2 separate regions of the Homo sapiens genome follow, and region 1 is linked to region 2. The links are contacts of gene promoters, found by promoter capture Hi-C in human tissues and cell types (Jung and others, 2019). All regions are on one chromosome and are shown on one strand. The core of a region is centred on a gene start or on the middle of the fragment in contact, and the rest is flanking DNA. Distances in the headings are between cores, read along the strand shown.

The links. Contacts are between HindIII fragments. The study calls those that stand out against the background at their distance.
Region 1: a fragment that was not itself captured here is called in contact with the fragment with the promoter of PCNA in region 2 in 1 of the 25 tissues and cell types used here (hippocampus).

The regions. Positions count from the first base shown.
Region 1 is chr20:4,920,623-4,927,561 of GRCh38, forward strand. All of the region lies in intron 3 of SLC23A2 (solute carrier family 23 member 2), which reads right to left. Among named protein-coding and RNA genes, the nearest start is that of SLC23A2, 77 kb to the right of the region's middle. RefSeq lists an enhancer at 5,581-5,875. The HindIII fragment of the contact is 3,261 bases long and covers 3,723-6,939 here.
Region 2 is chr20:5,118,708-5,125,329 of GRCh38, forward strand. It overlaps PCNA (proliferating cell nuclear antigen), which reads right to left and starts at 1,251. Exons shown (of 6, transcript NM_182649.2): 1 at 871-1,251; 2 at 62-159. The coding sequence starts at 1,091. It overlaps PCNA-AS1 (PCNA antisense RNA 1), which reads left to right and starts at 879. Exons shown (of 1, transcript NR_028370.1): 1 at 879-1,262. It overlaps LOC124900464 (small nucleolar RNA SNORA26), which reads right to left and starts at 2,832; the gene lies at 2,710-2,832. RefSeq lists enhancers at 1-705, 445-594, 706-1,586, 1,035-1,204, 1,335-1,784 and a silencer at 785-844. The HindIII fragment of the contact is 20,967 bases long and covers 1-6,622 here.

The DNA.
Region 1 (6,939 bases), core at 4,103-6,602, 190 kb before region 2:
CAATGAAGATAATCCTTATACACTGACACAGGTATACAGAACATCATCTGTATATCAGAAAGTGAAAAGAGCAAGAACGGAGCTACAGACACAGATCTGTAGATACAGACACTTCCTTCTACAACAAAAACTGCTCCCCCTAAACAGAGACAGAGTAAACATCCCCCTATCCTAGGGCTATCAGTAATGACAGGCACAGATCTGGCTGGTGGTGCGGCTGGTTCTCCCTCTATTCCCTCAAAGTGCTATCAGATCCAGGGATCTTCTCTGTAATTGTTCTGTATGATGCAGTATCTTTGATCACCAGTATTACTCCGCAGGAATAAAGGGGCTAGGGAGAAGAATAGGCACAATGAAAGAATATAAATGGCCAAGGAATGCTGGCAGAAGTGTTTGGCTTCACTGAAACTCAAAATTAAAGCAATCAGATACAATAAGGTCAATATAAACTAGGCTGTTATTTATTATAGCAAAGCATTAGAAACAATCCAAAGTCCCAATGCAAGTGGAAAAGTTAGATCCATGATTTGCTATATGTCACAATTACAAGTTCTGTTTCTAATAACATTGAGATGCCACGATATGATACAAAGTTAAAGTCTTCATAAAGCAGATTGTGTGTTGATGAGAATTTTATAAAAGAACACTCAAATACTTGTCTTAAATCTCTGGAAAGAAATACATCAAGGCTGGGCACAGTGGCTCATGCCTGTAATCTCAGCACTTTGGGAGACCAATCACTTGAGCTCAGAAATTCGAGACCAGCCTAGGCAACATGGCAAAACCCCATTCCTACTAAAAACAACAATAACAACTAGCTGGGCGTGGTGGTGCATGCCTGTAGTCCCAGCTACCCAAGAGGCTGAAGTGGGAGGATCACTTGAGCCCAGGAGGTCAAGGCTGCAGGAAGCTATGATCATGTCACTGCACTCCAGCCTGGGTGACAGAGTGAGACCCTGTCTCAAACAACAATCACAACCAAAAAAAAAAAAAAAAGAAATACACCCAAAATATCAGTAAAATATTTTCTGTTACTACCAAAATAACAGAAAGTGGTGTTTTTCTGGCTAGTGAGATTTTAAATTATTTGTTTTCCTCATTTTACCATTCTGCATTTTCTGCAGTGAACTTATTTCTCTTGTAAATGAAGAAAGTTACACAAATAATGAAAAAGGGACAGAAAATACACATATGAGAACTACAAAAAAGAGGCAGAAGAACATATCAGCATTCTTGCTTCTTCCATTTCACCCCAACAATGTAGTTTGTACCGTAAAACCTAGGGAGAACTATGGATGCTTAAAAACATCCATTTTAAGGGCAATTTAAGAGGGTGGGGAATGTGACAACTGAGTGATTACTGCCTCGAAACCTCCAATATCATATCTTCCTCCTCAAGTACTTTATCAAATCCTAGCAAGAATGAACTTTTTCTCCAATAGAATTATGGGCTTAGATTATGGTAAAGAAATCAATCTGAAATATTTTATCTCTAATCATTAAAACTAAGAAGCCTGCCTACCTAGCTTAGGCAAATAAAAGTTAGTGGGGGTGGGGATTAGGAATTTAGAAGTGGGGATTCACCTAGAAGAAAGGAAATCTGAAGTAGTCCTGGAAGTGCAAAAGGCACAGGCAGGAATAGCAATCAGGGGTCAGAAGAGACCAAGGCTGTGGGGCAGGGAGATCACACAGAGGTTGTCACGATGATCCCAGGAAGAACTGATGCTGACCCACAGAAAGCGGAGACAGCAGGATGAAGGCAGGGGGATCACATGGGGTAGGAAAGGAAGGAAGCTTGTCAACTACTTCTGATGCATTCCTGTCACAGCATTTAGCAAGAGCAGAACAAACAAGAGGTCCTCTAAGGCCTTTTCCATGACCAAGATTCCATAAACCTGACCTCACAGAAATTAAGAGGTGAGAGGCCGGGCACAGTGGCTCACGCCTTTATCCCAGCACTTTGGGAGGCCGAGGCAGGAGGATCACTTGAGGTCAGAAGTTTGAGACCATCCTGGCCAACATGGTAAAATCCAGTCTCTACCAAAAAATACGAAAATTAGCTGGGCATGGTCGTGCATGCCTGTAGTCCCAGCTAGCTACTTGGGAGGCTGAGGCACAAGAACTGCTTGAACCCGGGAGGCAGAGGCTGCAGTGAGCCAAGATCACGCCACTGCACTCCAGCCTGGGTGACAGCAAGACCGTGTCTTTAAAAAAAAAAAAGCACACACACACACACACACAAGTAAGAGATGGCCAGAATGCTGATCAACTTCGTAAGCCTGCTATAGTAAGAGACTGTAGCAAGAACCTCTTACTATTTTCATTCGTAACAAATTGTGTGTCTCCCAACTATTAGATGTGTACTTTGTATTACTAACATCTCTCATTTCATTTAAAACTACCAAAACTCTGTTCAAATTAAAAGTATATTGCAATATGATAAACTTATCTGAAACCTCAAAACCAGAGGAAAAAAAATTAATTTTTAAGTTAAAAATCTAGGACTGGGTGTGGTGGCTTATGCCTGTAATCCCAGCACTTTGGGAGGCCAAGGTGGGAAGACTGCTTGAGCCCAGGAGTTCGAGACCAGCCTGGGCAATGTAGCGAGACCCCATCTTGAAGGGAGGGAGGCAGGGAGGGAGGGAGGGAGGGAGGGAGGATGGATAAGGAAAAGAACATCTTACCATGCACAAAAATCTTCACTTGCATCCCATCGTTTTGATGTTTTCATTTCAAAGCATATATTGGCATATTCCTTTTCTAACACTTTTTCCCCCCAACTTACAAATTTTAAAACAGAAAAGGGTGCTCATCTTGGTTGTTCCACTTCAAGCTGTTAAGGGCATCCCCTGCCTAAATCATGGCCATTATGCAGTATATTAAAACTCTCATCTTACAGAAATAGGAGAATTAAACCAATTCCCTGGGCCGACTCCAGGAAACAGTCTCTCTTCATCCTCAGGCCCTTCTTGGAATCATAGTCAATTCCAAAATCTATTATTCTTACAGAAAGAACATTTTCCCAGACAACTATTATTACCATCCAACTGAGACTTTTCGTTTTAAGATCTAAGTACTCCAAACTCTCTATTTAGGGATGTACAAAAAGGAACTTCACAGCACCTGGTACGAAAGTCACAAGAACAAGGACATGTTCTGGGCTTCTTTGCTTGGTTTTTAGAATGAAGGTAGTTGCACCAAAAAGCCTTTTTGCCTTCTTTTCACTGCTGAAAAGGGGCATGTTCAAATCTGTCATCACATAGTCAGGGGTTTAGAGGAACTGAAGCAGCCATTAAATGGTTTCTTCACTGTACCTCCCTACATCTTTCTGCCAAGGCCACTTGTCTTAAAGAAGGGATGGGAAGGAAACAGAAAAGGAAAGAAAGGAGCATGGGTCCCTGATCCTGGTGGCTGCCCTCCTCCCCTCCGCTCTGGGGCATCCTCACATCCCTGCATCCTTGCACAGCACAGCTCTGAGCCGCATCGCCACTCTGTCCTGCTCACCTCCTGCCTGCTAGGCACACCCATCAGGACACAGCCCCACAGGCCCCAGGTCTCCTCCTGAAGCTCCTTCCAGGAGTCTCTTCCAGGACAGCAACTTGCCCCTTCTTTTCAAAGCTCTCGGCCACACCTCCAGCCAACCCTTCCTCCACTGTGGCTCCTCCCCGTCCTCCCTCTGGAGTCAGAGTTTCTCCTGACATACTTTTCAACGCCTGGAATGGGTGTCTCTTTCTGAAGGGACTTGCCCCCACCCTCATCCAGCCCAAAAGCACAGAAACTAGGTCTGCTCCAGAGCCTGGTGGCTTCTCCCACCTCCACATGGCAAGCACCCAGGATGCAGCTGCTGTCAGCACACCTGTCCTAGGGCCACCAGCTCCTGCCTGGCCTCCTGCTTTTCCTTTCAGCCTACTCCCCACTAGGCAGAGCATGTCACATCTCTGCTCAAAGGCCTCCAAAGGTTTTTTTCAGGCCAACACCCTGGTGAGGCCCACAAGACCTATGGAATCTCTGGTCAATGCCCATCCTGGTGGAGCAACACCAGGCACCCCCCTGCTGTGGGGCCTTTGCCCTTGAGGCCCACATGCAGGCTTCCCACAACTCCTCCAGGACTTTACTCAAAGGCCGCCTTCTTGGTGCAGCCTTTCCTGGCCGCCTGAATTTTCAGCATCCATACCTCTACCTTATTTTTTTCCCTAGTGTTTGTCAATATCTAACATCTACACATTTGACTTATTTCTATTGTGGATTGCCTGTCTCCCACACCAGAATGAAAGCCCTGTGGCCAGGCAAAGTGGCTCCCACCTGTAATCCCAGCACTTTGGGAGGCTGAGGCAGAAGGATTGCTTGAGCTCAGGAGTTTGAGATCAGTGACATAGTTAAGACCTTGTCTCTACAAAAAAAAAAAATTAAAAATCAGCTGAGCACAGTGGCATGTGCCATATTTCAGCTACTCAGGAGGCTGAGGTGGGAGGATGGCTTAAACCCAGGAGGTTGAGGCTGCAGTGAGCCATGATGATGACACTGCACTTCAGCCTGAATGATAGAGCAAGACTCTGTCAAAAAAAAAAAAAAAAAGGATGGAAACTCATGGATTTTTGTCTGTCTGTTCATTGCTGTTCTCTAGAGCCCAGACCTGTGAGTGGCACACAGTTCCTATTTTTAAAAGGACAAATTAATGAATGGCTTGCAGGTCCTGTATGATCACTGTCTGACCTCACATTCTATTTCTCACTATTCCCCTCCCTGATTTATTTTTCTTCACAGAATTAGTGACCAGCTGCCACAAGATTGACGTATTTGCTTGTTTCTTTACTGTTTTTCTCCTCCCACCATCACTAGGAGGCCAATTCCAGGACAGAGCCTCACGCAAAGCAGGTGCCCAATAACCATCTGCTGAATGGAAGAATTCCTTTCCTCCGCACTTTCCAGGTCAGGTCACTGTCGGCTCACACCTGGACTGCGTAAGCACCCTAACTTGCCTTCCTATCTCCAGACCCTTCCTGCCCCGGCACCCACCGCAGGAATTTCCTACCCCAAAACGAGCAAATTTACTATGACCTCTCCTCAGCATCCCTGCTGCTCATCTCCACCTCCACTGTACTCTGCACTAAACTTGCGCCCCAAGCAGGACACTGCCATGCACACCCTCAGCTGAGAGGCCTTCAGTCTCCCTCCTCTTGACCTACTATACCTAGACATTTTTTAGGAGTTCCATGTTATCTCCCCTGGGAACCTTCATCTGACCGGCAAGGCCCACCCTACAACACGACTGGGCAAGGGTCTCACGTGGACACTATCACAGCACCCGTGCAGAATTCAAACCCTAACACTGATGGTATGCTGGCTGTCTTGCCATATGTCCCCCACTGGGCTGTAAGCAGCTGGTTACCAGGTATGTGCACCAGACACATTTAATCAATGGAGGAACGTGAGGCTGTGGGCTCTTCCCATTACATGTTCTGAAGAACACACACCAAGGTAAGATGAGAAGTGGTCGGTTCTTATGAACACCCAGGAGTATTTCTCCCACTCTCTGGTAAGACTAAACCTCATAAAGTTACTCGTCGGTCCATGCCGCTAATATCTCCAGACAGAATAATCTACTCTTGATACCCAAATATTCTCACAAAGGCTGTTAAAAGAAATAAAAGCTTAAGGAAGCTTAAACGCTTTCCCTGACTCTGAATGATGACGCACTGAAACAACAGGCTGTGTGTGTCACAGCCGTGCCTGTGCCAACAGGAAGTTTGGGCTGTTAACTGGGCTTCCAGGTTTAGGTGGTCCAAGAACTGCTGAGCAAACACACAGCCTTTTTCTGGCCGTGCTTCCTGTCTGTACTTTGGGATCAATGTCCCTAGGGTACGATCGTTCATCAGAATTTTTTTTGCTTTTTTTTTTTTTTTTTTTTTCCTGATTCCTGTTTCTTGCCATGGGCATTCACCCCTATTTACGCATTTCCTAGCTGGCTTTAAAACATAAGAATTTGCCTAACTAGAGTCCTGTGGGATAAGAAGAAGATCTTTTGCTATGTTCCCCCTATTTGATATCAACTCTGACCACATGATCTAATTTCCATGAGTCCTGGGGCCTGGCACATCTCTTGTTCTTACTTTGACCTAGTGGACATTCTACTTCTAAGTATGGATTTGTTCTTTTTCTTTGTAAAATGTTTGTGTGGGTGTTTTGTTTTATTTTGTTTAAAGATCTGGGAAGCACTCATCCAACACAGGATGCCTAAGAGAATCTCTAAAGATAAGATCCTTATCAGCCACACACCCCACCTCCCTTTCCAGGAGACACCCCACAAGCCTGGTTCTCAGCAACGGCCAGATTTGGTTACTGGTGCCCAACCACGCTGCACTCCAGCACACCTTTCTCTAGATGCCTTAACAGCTGACAGCCTAAAGCCCAGCTTTGGATTCTGAGGCAAATGAGAAAATAAGAGCCAACATTTCAGCCTCGCAAGGCCCTAACCAGCAAGCAGAGATGGGCTAGCCACTAGCCACGTGTGGCTATGGAGTACTTGACGAGTGCAACTAACGAAGTGAATTTCAGGTTTTATTGAATAGTATTTAATTTAAATGTAAACGTCACATGTGACTAGCAGCCATGATGCTGGACAGTACAGATCCAGACAAAAAGATAAAACCCAGAGCTGCCATGCTGGCTATTCTTCAATATTTACATTTGCAAAGGCCAGAATGAAACAAGGCACTAGCATGCAGCAATGTCCTGGCATGATCCTCCCTGTCACTCATGTGTGGGTATACCCAACGGTGAGACCCTCAACCCTATCTTCCTCTGCCAGCTCTGCCTGCCAGCAGCACCCTCTCACACGGGTCAGTCACCACCCACATGAGCCATCACAGTGAGTCTTTACAGCTCTCCTGATCTCTATGTGTGTCAAGTCCCACACCCCCACTGCCTGCAGGCTCTAGG
Region 2 (6,622 bases), core at 1-2,500:
ATACTGACACAGAGTTTTGATTTTCTGTAGCTTCGTGACTCGGTAAAAAGGTACGACTTACTTGGTGCTTCAAATACTAGCGCCAAGGTATCCGCGTTATCTTCGGCCCTTAGTGTAATGATATCTTCATTGCCGGCGCATTTTAGTATTTTGGACATACTAGAAGACAGGAGACACATGCTTTAAAATCAACGCCGTCTGCTGAAGGGCTGTATTTCGAACGCGGTTAGAAGGGGTTACCACTCTCACCCATCAGGCCGTCTCAGAACTGGTGGAGGGTAAGCGGACTGCTGGAGGATGCCATTATTAATGCAGACGTTTTGGGACGCATCTGGCAGTATTTATACTAAAATACCACCAGCAGTGTCCCTTCTGGATAGAAACAATCTCCTGCCACTAAGTAGGATGACAGGCTGCCACATTTCTCGCAAGGGCATTATAAAGCATTTAAAGTCAACCGCGACTGAGCCGGGAGGATCGCTTGAGCCCAGAAGTTGGAGACCAGCCCGGGCAACACACCGAGACCGTCTCAGAAACAAGAAAGCCACAGCTAAAGCGTCCATTCAAGGCCAACAGGATTTAGTGAGCAAAGAGCCCTGGAACAGTGTTCCTGGCACTGCGGAAAAACCCTTGATTTTCCCGCCACCACCCGCTTTGTGACTTTGGCGCGAAAAAGCAGGTTCGCGCAGCAGCCAGCGCGGGCTTTTCCGAACCGCGCGCTCAGCTGGGCCCCACCCCACTGCGTGGCAGGCCAATGAGAAGGCGCGGATGGCCCACGCCAGCCAATGAGGGCTAGGCTCGAAAGCGCTCCCGCCAAGCACCGGAGGTGCAGGCGGGCCGGGGCCGGCTTCCCGGGGCCGCGAGGCTCACCTGGTGAGGTTCACGCCCATGGCCAGGTTGCGGTCGCAGCGGTAGGTGTCGAAGCCCTCAGACCGCAGGGTGAGCTGCACCAAAGAGACGTGGGACGAGTCCATGCTCTGCAGGTTTACACCGCTGGAGCTAATATCCCAGCAGGCCTCGTTGATGAGGTCCTTGAGTGCCTCCAACACCTTCTTGAGGATGGAGCCCTGGACCAGGCGCGCCTCGAACATGGTGGCGGAGTGGCAACAACGCCGCTACAGGCAGGCGGGAAGGAGGAAAGTCTAGCTGGTTTCGGCTTCAGGAGCCTCAGAGCGAGCGGGCGAACGTCGCGACGACCGGCTGAGACCTAGAAAGACAACGACCACTCTGCTACGCCTGCAACCGTTTAATGCCGCCGCGTCCGCAAGCGCGCGCTCTCACCCTGCGCCGCGTTGCGACGTCACCACGCTGTCCAGCCCACGGCCTTGCGGGGAAGACTTTAGGGCCAATCGTGTCCATGCTCCCCGCGAGGCCCGCCCCCTAGAGCATACATTGGAGGAAGCGGGCGCAGGGCGGGGCAGCGTCGCGCAGGTCTCCCCGCCTCTTTGACTCCTGAACCCGGCCGCAGAACAAGTCCGGGCATATGTGGAGATCGGGTCCCGGTCCCGGCTCGTCAAGCCCCAGCTTTATGGTGGCTCCTCAGCCTCCCACTACGTGGGTAGAAAGTTTCCAGCCACGAAAGTGAAAGTGAAATGCAAATCAAGCCTACCGGGAGGAAAAGCCTCCTTGCAGCCTGAAGAGAGTACAGCTGCTGCAAATATGCACTTTATTTTTCAATTACAGAATTGATGCGCTCGTAGGTGTCACAAGATAAAGAGGTGAATTGTTCTGTTAAACTTAGCTCCCTATCATCCTCTTAACATTCCCCCGCCAGCTCTTATAATCACTCAATCGTTCATTGTATAAAGCTTTTAAAGCTTTTTTAAAAGTTCGAATACACTTTTTTTTTTTCAAAAATGCACTCATTCCGTAAACACTTGGAAAAGTACTTAATAAAGTACATTTAATTTTATGCCACGTACATCTTTTATCATATCAGTACCTCTTTAAAACATAGCATCACATGTATATAACATAATTTATCAATCTCCTGTTGTTTAACTACAAACACCTTTGAGCACTTAGGCAATTTTGGTGATATCAACTCCTTGAAGTAATACAGCTGAGTCAAAGAGCGTACACATTTAATATTTTTTCTTTTCTTTTCCTTTCTTTTTGAGATGGAGTCCTGCTCTGTCATCCAGGCTGGAGTACAGTGGCGCGATCTCAGCTCATTGCAACCTCCGCCTCCCAGGTTCAAGTGAGTCTCCTGCCTCAGCCTCCCGAGTATCTGGGATTACAGGTGCCTACCACCACCCCCGGCTAATTTTTGTATTATTATTATTATTTTTTTTTAGTAGAGACGGGGTTTCACCATGTTGGCCAGGCTGGTCTTGAACACCTGACCTGAGGTGATCCACCTGCCTCGGCCTCTCAAAGTGCTGGGATTACAGGCGTGAGCCACCACGCCCAGCCAGAAATTTTCAATTGTTACAGGATGGACAGGATTTGTTGTTTCTCTCTTGCTTTCTTCACACCACTTCTCTTTAGTTACTTTTAATACCTTGGTCAGCAGAATTCTTTAGTTTTTCTACCATGTATCTAGGTATGGAGTTAGTTTTATTTGTCTTGTTGAGGGAACTGAAGATTCATTTCAAGTCTGACATATTCTCAATCATTATGGCTTCAAATATCTCCTCTCCTTAGTCTATTCTTTATCTCTGGAATGCCTTTCTTTCCTTTTTTTTTTTTTTTTTTTTTTCCTAGTTCAGCTGTGACTCCATACAAGGTTCTAAGATGAGTTTCACAGTCTCTTCCCTGGATTTTGTGGAGACTTAACTTTACCCTTCTGTATCAGCCTCTTAAAGCACTGGGTCAGCCTTAAAAGGGAACAGGAAAGGGCATTTCTATTATAAGATGCCTTCAATTGTAATATGTACCATTATTTTATGTAGCACAAGCAAGAAAACTGTCAAACTTTTTTTTTTATTATTTTCTAGAGAGGGGAGTCTCCCTTTGACACCCAGGCTGGAGTGCAGTGGCAAGATGACTACTCACTGCCACCTCCAACTTCTAGGCTCGAGAGATCCTCTTGCCACCTCCCAAATAGCTGGGACTACAGGGGTGCACCACTGTACCTGGCTAATTTTTAAATGTTTTTGTAGAGAGAAGGTCCCACTATGTCGCTCTGGCTGGTCTCCAACTCCTGGGCTCAAGCAATCTTCCCAATCGGTCTCCCAAAGTGTGAGATTACAGGCATGAGCCACTGTGCCCAGCCTCAAACTGTTACACAATGCTTTATCACTTAGAATTTCTTTTTTTTTTTCTTTTTCTTTTTCTTTTTTTTTTTTCTGAGACAGAGTCTCACTCTATCACCCAGGCTGGAGTGCAGTGGTGTGATCTTGGCTAACCGCAATCTCCGCCTCCTGGGTTCAAGCAATTCTCATGCCTCAGCCTCCTGAATAGCTAGGATTACAGGCATGCGCCATCACACCTGGCTAATTTTTGTATTTTTAGTAGAGACGGGGTTTTGCCATGTTGGCCAGGTTGGTCTTGAACTCCTGACCTCATGTGATCTGCCTGCCTTGGCCTCCCAAAGTGCTGGGATTACAGGCATGAGCCACCGCGCCCGGGTCTATTTTGTTTTAAAAGAACTTTTAGACTTTAAAAACATTCTTATTATATATTACTCTTGTGCAAACATGAAAAAATTTAAGCTACATTGGTTAAGGCATTCCTACTGTTTCTCCACTCAGTTAGTTGCTGATTCTGCTGTTTTTCTGTATAATATCCTACTCTGTGTTGTCAAGGGTATTGATGATGCAGTATTTTTCAATAGTGCTATTCTATTGTCTCTGGAATTTCTTGCAAGCCTCTGCTACTCATTTGTAAGTTTTGATGTTGGCACTTTCTTGCTTTATGTGTGATGGACTACCCATTTGCATACATCTCAATATCAAAACATAATACAGCATCATCTGTTTGTGGTTCTTTTCCTTTCTTGGGTCCGTTAAAATCTCAGTTCCTTTGCAAAATGTGGAATGTGTTCCTTCCTCCAGTGAGGAACATTTGCTTCACTAAAAACAAATGCATATGCTCCACTACTCTGTTTCAGTTCTGTCTGCTTACATAATAACATTTTGGTTTAATGCCAAATTACATGTAATAGATTTGAAGACATTTTAAATGACAAACTCTATCCATGGGGGATCCACCATGTACATCAATCTGTTTATTTCTGCTCTATTACAGAAGTGATGTCCTCCTAAAAGTGTCAAATGATAAAGAGGTGTACAGTTACGTAAATTTTATGTTAAACTGAAATGAGGACATAAACATGCCTATGACTGTGGTCAGAGAAGGCCTCTCTGAGGAGGTAGCATCTTATCAGAGAAGACAGCTGCTTGGAGAGTTGGAAAAAAGCATTCTAGGCTGAGAGAATAGCATGATTATAAAGGTCAGCATACTTGGAATATATTCAGACAAGTTTGATGTAGAACTCAGACTGATGTGTCTGAAGCAAGAGTGGTGCAAGGTGAGGTTGCAGAGAGGCTGGGGTGAGCTCTTGCAGGACTTTGTAGGCTCTCTAAAAGTGCAAGGGAATGTGGTCAACAGCAGATCTTTGATGTGATCCAATTTACATTTTAAGTGGCTACTCTAACATCTAGTAAAGGTACTATTGGATCAGTGGGAGAAAGAATGAAGTAAATTTTGATCAGATAATTGGTTAAACTATTAGAAAAGAATAAAAGCTGTAGACTTTTCTGGATGGGCGCAGTGGCTCATGCCTGTAATCCCAGAACTTTGGGAGGCTGAGGTAGGTGGATCATCTGAGGTCAGGAGTTCGAGACCAGCCAGGCCAACATGGTGAAACCCCGTCTCTACTAAAAATACAAAAATTAGCTGGGCGTGGTGGTGCACACCTGTAATTCCAGATACTAGGGAGGCTGACGCAGGAGAATTGCTTGAACCCGGGAGGCAGAGGTTGCAGTGAACCAAGATTGCGCCACTGTACTCCAGCCTGGGTGACAGAGCAAACCTCCATCTCAAAAAAAAAAAAAAAGACTTTTCCTAATAATTATTCACTAAATTCTAGATAAAGAATTCAAATTCAAATCTTGACCCAATAAGAAATGGAAAAATATTTTGGTAAATATTTATGAGATCTTCCTATGGGCTTCCAAACATAAGAAAAAAACCCATAAAACATAATGAATAACCATACAAGTTTTAAGACTTCAGTATGCCTCAAAGGATTATATTGGTTAGTATAGTTTAGGTTTCAGTGACAGAGAACTCAACTTGAATGGATTAAGAGAAATAGAAAATTTATTCATCTAAACAAAAAGCCAGAGGTATCTGGCCTCCACTGTCCAGTCCTAGTCTTCATAAACGTGAAGTTTGTTAGCCACATTAATAAGCAAAGAAATGTAAATTCAATGGAGACAGAATTTTAACCTACCAAATTAATAAAAATCATGTTAACACCTGGTGTGTTAGGAAGGATTCAAGGAAGTAGGCACTTAAATACATTGCAAGTGGGAGTATACATTGGTATAATTTTTCTGGTGGAAACTTAGAAATGTGTATCAAAAGCCTTAGAATTTTACTTATTCTTTGACACAGAAATTCGATCTCTAGGGTTTTTTCCTACAGAAGAAATCAGGGGCATTTACCAAGATCAAGCATGCTTAAGAATGTTTCTTGAGCCAGGTGCAGTGGCTGATGCCTGTAATCCCAGCACTTTGGGAGGCCCAGGTGGGCGGATCACCTGAGGTCAAGAATTCAAAACCAGCCTGACCTAAAACCCCTGTCTCTACTAAAAATACAAAAATTAGCCAGCTGTGGTGGCGGGCGCCTGTAGTCCCAGCTACTCGGGAGGCTGAGACAGGAGAATTGCTTGAACCTGGGAGGCGGAGGTTGCAGTGAGCCGAGATCACACCATTGCACTCCAGCCTGAGCAACAAGAGGGAAACTGTCTAAAAAAAAAAAACAAAAAACAAACAAAAAGAAAACAAAAAACGAAAAGAGAGAGAGAGAAGGGCTCTAAAGCTGGCCTAAAGCCCTATTAGCATCACTTCCACCAGACCCCTGTTCGTCACACAGTACTGACTTCAGGAATATACTTGATCTGAGTTCCATTAACCTGAGAGGGCTGAGTGTAATGGATGAGAAGTTTGTTCAGACCACATGTTATCCATCCTAGTAATCATGCTGTGCATTCTATAATTCTGACTTATGTGCATTGATTCTCCAAGCCTCCTTTTATTAGGCTGGATTTGAAAAGGAGCAGCTGAGTTTCTAGAAGGACTGACATGACACTCACTTAGATATGACCTTTCATACCTACGTGCCCCTGAAGGTGAAGTTCTAGACACTAACATCTTCACCTGTCTTAGAAGATCATCTTGCTCGAGTGCTGTGGCTCATGCCTGTAATCCCAGAACTTTAGGAGGCCTATGTGGGAGGATTGCTCGAGCCCAGGAGTTTAAGACCAGCCTAAGCAATAAAGTGAGACTTCATCGCTACACAAAAATTTAAAAGTTAGCTGGGTGTGGTGCTGCACACCTGTAGTCCAAGCTACTCGGGCATATACTCATATAGAAATCAGGAATATATAATGCTGTTTTCAGAATTCTCACTACCTGCCCCAAAACTCACAGCTCAGGTCAAAATTACCAAT